2 separate regions of the Homo sapiens genome follow, and region 2 is linked to region 1. The links are contacts of gene promoters, found by promoter capture Hi-C in human tissues and cell types (Jung and others, 2019). All regions are on one chromosome and are shown on one strand. Each heading gives the region's core, a stretch centred on a gene start or on the middle of the fragment in contact. The rest is flanking DNA. Distances are from core to core; before and after follow the strand shown.

Region 1 (3,729 bases), core at 1,135-3,634:
TTTTAAATTGGTTTCTGACACTATCACAAGATAAAAATGTGGTTTAAAATTGTTGCTTGGTATGTCTTATTCACCTCTAAAGATATACTGTTCATCAGGCCGGGTGCAGTGGCTCACACCTGTAATCCCAGCACTTTGGGAGGCTGAGGCGGGAGGATGGCTTGAACCCAGGAGTTCTAGGCTGTAATGTGCTCTGCCAATTGGGCATCCACACTAAGTTCGGCATCAATATGGTGACCTCCCACCAGGTTGCCTAAGAAGTGGGGAAATGGTCTAGGTTGAAAATGGAGCAGGTCAAAATTTTCATGCTGGCTGGGCACAGTGGCTCACACATGTAATCCCAGCACTTTGGGAGGCCAAGGCAGATGGATCACCTGAGGTCAGGAGTTTGAGACCAGTCTGGCCAACATGGTGAAACCCTGTCTCTACTAAAAATACAAAAAAAAAAATTAGCTGGGCATGGTGGCATGTGCCTATAATCCCAGCTATTTGGGAGGCTGAGGCAGGAGAGTTGCTTGAACCCAGGAGGCAGAGGTTGCAGTGAGCCGGGATCACGCCACTGCACTCTAACCTGGGCGACAGAGTGAGACTCCATCTCAAAAAAAAAAAAAAAAACTTTCATGCTGATCAGTAGTGGAATCAGCTTGTGAATTGCCCTCCAGCCTGAGCAACACAGACTGCCTCTTACTAATCCCAGCACTTTGGGAGGCTGAGGTGGGAGGATGGCTTGTGCCTAAGACTTTGAGACTAGCCTAGCCAAAATCCCTTCTCTACAAAAAATGCAAAAATTAGCTGGGTATGGTAGTGTGCACCTGTAGTCCCAGTTACTCAGGAGGCTTAGGTGAGAGGCTCACCTAGGCCCAGGAGGTTAAGGCTGCATTGAGCTATGATTTTGCCACTGCACTCCAGGCTGGGCCTAGGCCTTTGTAGTCACAGCTACTTGGGGGCAAATGTAGGAGGATCACTTGAGCCCAGTAGGTCGAGGCTGCAGTCAGCTGTGTTTTTTGAGACATAGCAAGACCCTGTCTCAAAAAGAAAAAAAAAAGTAGCTACAAGCTCATTTATGCAAAGGCTAACCACTGTCACAAGTAGAGATGTGCAGAACTGAGATTCAAATGGATGGAATGGCAAGAAAAACTGCCACTTCTGTGAACCTGAAGTCAAACTGCCCTTGTCGTCAAGATAAAAGGTATACATGGTGTGAGCCTGGGCATCTGAAAGGTGTTGCAGCTTTTTCTTTTATTTTTTTGAGATGGAGTCTCACTCCTGTCACCCAGGCTGGAGTGCAGTGGTGCGATCTCAGCTCACTGCAACCTCTGCCTCCTGGGTTCAAGCAATTCTCCTGCCTCAGCCTCCTGAGTAGCTGGGATTACAGGTGCCCACCACCACACCCAGCTAATTTTCGTATTTTTAGTAGAGATGGGGTTTCGCCATGTTGGCCAGGCTGGTCTCGAACTCCTGACCTCAGGTGATCCGCCTGCCTCAGCCTCCCAAAGTGCTGGGATTACAGGTGTGAGCCACCTGTAATTAGCCAGGCTTGGTGGTGGGTGCCTGTAATCCCAGCTACTGGGAAGGCTGAGGCAGGAGAATTGCTTGAACCTGAGAGGCGGAGGTTGCTGTGAGCCGAGATCGTGCCACTGCACTCCAGCCTGGGTGACAGAGTGAGACTCCATCTCTAAATAAATAAATAAATAAATAAAATGAGATGATTTCTGAGTGAGTTAACTAAATCAGGATATGCAGAACAATGCCAAGCATATATTAGCCACTAAAGAATATATAAGTTGCCTGAAAGCCCCTTTAGGGTTTAAACCTGGACTTCATTATTCACAATCACATTCCCGGTCCCCATTACGGAGCCTGGTCACCTGGGTGCTTGTTAGATATGGAAATCATCAGATCCCACCCCAGACCGAGTCAGAAACGTTGAGGGCAGGAGTTCAAGACCAGCCTGGCCAACATGGCGGAAACTCCGTCTCTACTAAAAATACAAAAATTAGTCAGGAGTGGTGGCACAGGCCTGTGATCTCAGCTACTCGGGAGGCTGAGACATGAGAATCCCTTGAACCTGGGAGGCAGAGGCTGCAGTGAGCCAAGATGGTGTCATTGCGCTCCAGCCTGGGTGACAGAGTGGGACTCTGTCTCAAAGAAAAAGAAAAAAAGAAAAGAAATTGCAGCTTCTGCTCAGGAAGTCTGGAGTGGGCCAGGATTCTGCATTTTAACAACTCCCAGGAGTGTTAGTGGGGCTGGTTTGTGGACTCGCCTTTGAGTCGTTGGTCTCCGCTCAATCAATATTAGATAAAATGACAGTATTGGGAGAAATCCAGGGGGCTCTGGAGGACCGAGGGATCATATTGGAGGCAGATAGGGCAGAGAAAGGTGGAGGAGGTGGGAGTCGGGTGTGGCTGTGGAGGAAGCTACTTAAATCCGGATTTGATCTTTGCTAGTTCTTATCCCTGGACCTGAACCCAGGCGCACATCTGGATTAGAAGATGCCAGGCTCAGAGGATCTTCGTAAAGGTAAGCCAGAAAAAATGAGAACCGAAGCAAAGACACGTGAAGAAGTGGAAAGCAGCTGGCGGCGGGAAAAGGCAGAGGGACCAGGCGGCCGAAGCTGGTGCTTCGTCCACGTGGGTGGCAGGGACTTCCCACAGAGGCTGTCATCGTTTTTGTTGTTGTTGTTTTGTTTTGTTTTGTTTGTCTTTTGAGACAGTCTCACTCTGTCGCTCAGGCTGGAGTGCAGTGGCACGATTTCGGCTCACTGCAACCTCCACCTCCCAGGTTCAAGCAATTCTCCTGCCTCAGCCTCCCGAGTAGCTGGGATGACAGGCACACGCCACCACACCTGGCTAATTTTTTTTTTTTTTGTATTTTTAGTAGAGCCGGGGGTTTCACCATATTGACCAGGCTGGTCTCGAACTCCTGACCTTGTGATCCGTCTGGCTCAGCCTCCCAAAGTGCTGGGGTGACAGGCGTGAGCCACTGCACCCGGCCCAAGTTTTGTATCTTTATAGAGATGGGGTTTCACCATGTTAGCTAGGTTGGTCTCAAGCCCCTGACCTCATGTGATTGGCTGGCCTCGGCCTCCCAAAGTGCTGGGATTACAGGCATGAGCCTCGGTGCCCGGCCGCGGCTGTCATCTGACAGCACAGGCAAATGCAGGGAAGCCTGTTTCTGCCTTCAAATCCGAAATCTTCTCCCTCGTAGTTGTGTCCTAATTCTTCCCACCCCGATGCTTGTTCTTGAGCACAGGGGAATCTGATTCCTATGAGGATGATTAGGTCCTAGATAGAATATAGGCTTAGCCAAGCTGGAAATCTCATGTTCATGAGCACTTACTAGACTCTGGAGCTGCTGCCAAACCATTTTCAGGCATGATGCGATTCAGATCTTTTAGAGCGAGGCATGCGGTGGCTCATGCCTGTAATCCCAGCACTTTGGGAGGCCGAGGTGGGCAGATCGCTTCAGCCCAGGAGTTCAAGACCAGCCTGGGCAACAAAACAAGACGTTGTCTCTACAAAAAATACAAAAATTAGCCGGGCATGTCAGTGTTGTGTAGTTCCAGCTACTCGGGAGGCTGAGGTGAGAGGATCGCTTGAGCCTGGGGAGGTTGAGGCTGAAGTGAGCTGTGATCATGCCACTGGGCAACACAGCAGTACACTGTCTCAAGAAAAAGAAAGTAAAAGGTGACATCCGTGACAGCAGTGATGTTATTTTTCTGCTTATTTC
Region 2 (4,151 bases), core at 1,243-3,742, 280 kb before region 1:
GGAGAGAAACTTTACAAGTGTAATGAATGTGGCAAGACCTTTAGTCGGAAGTCATCCCTTACACGCCATTGTAGACTTCATACTGGAGAGAAACCTTACCAGTGTAATGAGTGTGGCAAAGCCTTTCGTGGGCAGTCAGCACTTATTTACCATCAAGCAATCCATGGTATAGGGAAACTTTACAAATGTAATGATTGTCACCAAGTCTTTAGTAATGCTACAACCATTGCAAATCATTGGAGAATCCATAATGAAGAGAGATCGTACAAGTGTAATAGATGTGGCAAATTTTTCAGACATCGTTCATACCTTGCAGTTCATTGGCGAACTCATAGTGGAGAGAAACCTTACAAATGTGAAGAATGTGATGAAGCTTTCAGTTTCAAATCAAACCTTCAAAGACATAGGAGAATTCATACTGGAGAGAAACCTTACAGGTGTAATGAATGTGGCAAGACCTTTAGTCGGAAGTCATACCTTACATGCCATCGTAGACTTCATACTGGAGAGAAACCTTACAAGTGTAATGAGTGTGGCAAGACCTTCGGTCGAAATTCAGCCCTTATAATTCACAAGGCAATTCATACTGGAGAGAAACCTTACAAGTGTAATGAGTGTGGCAAGGCCTTCAGTCAGAAGTCATCCCTTACATGCCATCTTAGACTTCATACTGGAGAGAAACCTTACAAATGTGAAGAATGTGACAAAGTTTTCAGTCGCAAATCAAGCCTTGAAAAACACAGGAGAATTCATACTGGAGAGAAACCATACAAATGTAAGGTTTGTGACAAAGCTTTTGGGCGTGATTCACACCTGGCACAACATACTAGAATTCACACTGGAGAGAAACCTTACAAGTGTAATGAATGTGGCAAGAACTTCCGTCACAATTCAGCCCTTGTAATTCATAAGGCAATTCATAGTGGAGAGAAACCTTACAAGTGTAATGAGTGTGGCAAGACCTTCCGTCACAATTCAGCCCTTGAAATTCATAAGGCAATTCATACTGGAGAAAAACCTTACAAGTGTAGTGAATGTGGCAAGGTTTTTAATAGAAAAGCAAACCTTTCACGTCATCATAGACTTCATACTGGAGAGAAACCTTACAAGTGTAATAAATGTGGTAAGGTTTTTAATCAACAAGCACACCTTGCATGTCATCATAGAATTCATACTGGAGAGAAACCTTACAAGTGTAATGAGTGTGGCAAAACCTTCCGTCACAATTCAGTCCTTGTAATTCATAAGACAATTCATACTGGAGAGAAACCTTACAAGTGTAATGAATGTGGCAAGGTTTTTAATCGAAAAGCAAAACTTGCACGTCATCATAGAATTCATACTGGAAAGAAACATTAGAAATATGAAGAATGTGACAAAGTTTACAGTTGTAAATCAAGTCTTGAAAGACAGGAGAATTCATACTGGAGAGAAAGCTTACAAATGTAAGAGTTTGTGACAAGAATCTTGGGCGTGATTCACACCTGGCCCAACAAACTAGAAGTCACACTGGAGAGAAACCTTACAAGTGTACTGAGTGTGGCAAAGCCTTTAGTGGGCAGTCAACACTTATTCACCATCAGGCAATCCATGGTATAGGGAAACTTTACTAATGTAATGATTATCACAAAGTCTTCAGTAACACTACAACCGTTTCAAATCATTGGAGAATCCATAATGAGAGATTTTGAAAGTGTAATAAATGTGGCAAATTTTTCAGACATTGTTCATACCTTGCAGTTCATCGGTGAACTCATGCTGGAGAGAAACCTTACAAATGTCATGATTGTGGCAAGGTCTTCAGTCTAGCTTCATCTTATGCAAAACAGGAGACTTCATACAGGAGACAAACTTCACAAGTATGATGATTGCAGCAAAGCCTTTACTTCACGTTCACACCTAATTAGACATCAGAGAATCCATACTGGACAGAAATCTTACAAATGTCATCAGTGTGGCAAGGTCTTCAGTCTGAGATCACCCCTTAAGGAACATCAGAAAATTCATTTTTGAGATGATTGTTCCAAATGCAATGAGTATAGCAAACCATCAAGCATTAATTGGCATTAGAGTCAATTCAGCATTGACTTGAGTTTGAATTGACTTAACATTGAGTTCAAGCATTAATTGACATTAAAGTGTTTATGTTAAGAAGATTGGGCCAGGCGGGGTGGCTCACGCCTGTAATCCCAGCACTTTGGGAGGCCAAGACCAATAGATCACTTGAGGTCAGGAGTTTGAGACCAGACTGGCCAACAGACATGAGTCACTTTTCCCACCCTGTATTTTGTTTCTTTAATAAAAACTGTTACGGGTTTTTATGGGTATCTGTTGAATCTAAATCACATTTGTTTGTATAATCATTCAACAATATTAAGACTTCCAATCCATCAATATGGGTTGTATGTCTATTTAGTTTTTTTGATCAATGTAGATTTCAAGGTACAAGCTTCTCACCTCCTTAATTCAGTTTATTTGTAAGTATTAAGTTTCATAGCAAATTGAAGTGTGTTCATAAGTTTCTTTAAACATTATTTATTGTTAATGTAAGGAAATTCAACTAATTTTGGGTGCTGATTTTGTATTCTGCAAATACATTGAGTGGGTTTATTAGTATCAGTAAAATCTTGGTTGATTCTTTGTGATTTTCTTTCTTTTTTTTTTGAGACAGTCTCACTCTGTTACCCAGGCTCTTTTCTTTTTTTTTGAGAAGGAGTCTCACTCTTGTCACTTGGACTGGAGTACAATGGCACGATCTTGGCTCACTGCAGCCTCTGCCTTTCGGGTTTAAGTGATTCTCCTGCCTACTAACTGAGATTACAGGTGCCTGCCACCATGTCCGTATAATTTTTTTGTATTTTTAGTAGAGACGGGGTTTCACCATGTTGACCAGGTTTTTCTTGAACTCCTGACTTCAGGTGATCCGCCCCCATCAGCATCCCAAAGTTCTGGGATTACAGGTGTGAGCCACCGCACCCAGCCAGTGATTTTCTATATAGAATGTCGTATCATCTACAAGGAAATAATTTTTTTTTTTGAGACAATGTCTCTCTCTGTCGCCAGGCTAGAGTGCCGTGGAATGATCTTTGCTCACTGCAACCTCTGTCTCCCACGTCCAAGCAATTCTGTCTCAGCCTCCTGAGTAGCTGGGACTACAGGCGCATGTCACCACACCTAGCTAATTTATTTATTTTTTTTATTTTAGTAAAGACGGGGTTTCACCATGTTGGCCCAGATGGTGGGCCAACATGGTGAGTACCTTGAAGAGAACTTGAAAGAATATGTTAGATCGCCTAACCTCATTATCCGCCCACTTCGGACTTGCAAATTGCTGGGATTATGGGTGTGAGCCATGAGCCCGGCCCCAACAAATGTAATTTTACTTCTGTCTTTCTGATTTGGATGAGTTTTATTTCTTTTGCTATTTAATTGCTCTGCCTAGGACAGCCAGTATTTATTGAATATCAGGGGTGAGAGCATTCTTGCATCATGTGATATCCTACAGGAAAACCATTCCATTTTCCTTCATTGGTTATTTCAGCTGTGGTCATTTCATGGATGATTTTTATATTTTTGAGGTAAAACTCTACCTATATTGTTTAGGATTTTTACGAAGAATGAATATTGAGTTCTGTGAAATGCTTTTTCTCTATCTATTGAGATAATGTGTTTTTTATCTGTCATTCTGTGCAAGTGTGTATCCCATTGATTTGAGTATGTTGAACCATCCTTGCATCCCATGAATAGGTAGCACTTGGATGTTTACAATCCCTTTTTATATCCTCTTGAATACAGTTTGCTAGTATAAGGGTCTTCAAGAAGTTCATGGAAAAATACATATTATGAAAAATTTGTGCATAAATTTCACACTTTTTGTACCAAAATAAACCAGTATAAACTTGTTATAACGTCTGAACAGGCTCTAGTTTGAGGCACTCAGAAGGATAAGACATCAGTTTGAAAAGAACCTCTATCACAGCAATACAAATTCTGTTAAAACAAGAAGAAACATCAAATTTACGATGAGACCAGACGCAGTGGCTCAGGCCTGTAATCCCAGCGGTTTTAGAGGCCCAGGCAGGTGGGTGACGTGAGCCTAGGGATTCAAGACCAGCCTGGGCGACATAGGGGACCTCTTCTCTGCTAAAAGT

What was found. The method cuts DNA at HindIII sites, captures the fragments that hold promoters and counts their contacts. A contact is called where the count stands out against the background at its distance.
Region 2: a fragment that was not itself captured here is called in contact with the fragment with the promoter of DPRX in region 1 in 2 of the 25 tissues and cell types used here (liver and thymus).

What each region holds. Positions count from the first base shown.
Region 1 is chr19:53,629,615-53,633,343 of GRCh38, forward strand. It overlaps DPRX (divergent-paired related homeobox), which reads left to right and starts at 2,385. Exons shown (of 3, transcript NM_001012728.2): 1 at 2,385-2,520. The coding sequence starts at 2,493. It also overlaps the pseudogene RN7SL317P. The HindIII fragment of the contact is 20,441 bases long and covers 1-3,729 here.
Region 2 is chr19:53,352,230-53,356,380 of GRCh38, forward strand. It overlaps ZNF845 (zinc finger protein 845), which reads left to right. Exons shown (of 4, transcript NM_138374.3): 4 at 1-4,151. The coding sequence ends at 1,359. It also overlaps the pseudogene LOC107987264. Among named protein-coding and RNA genes, the nearest start is that of ZNF525, 11 kb to the right of the region's middle. The HindIII fragment of the contact is 6,579 bases long and covers 1-4,151 here.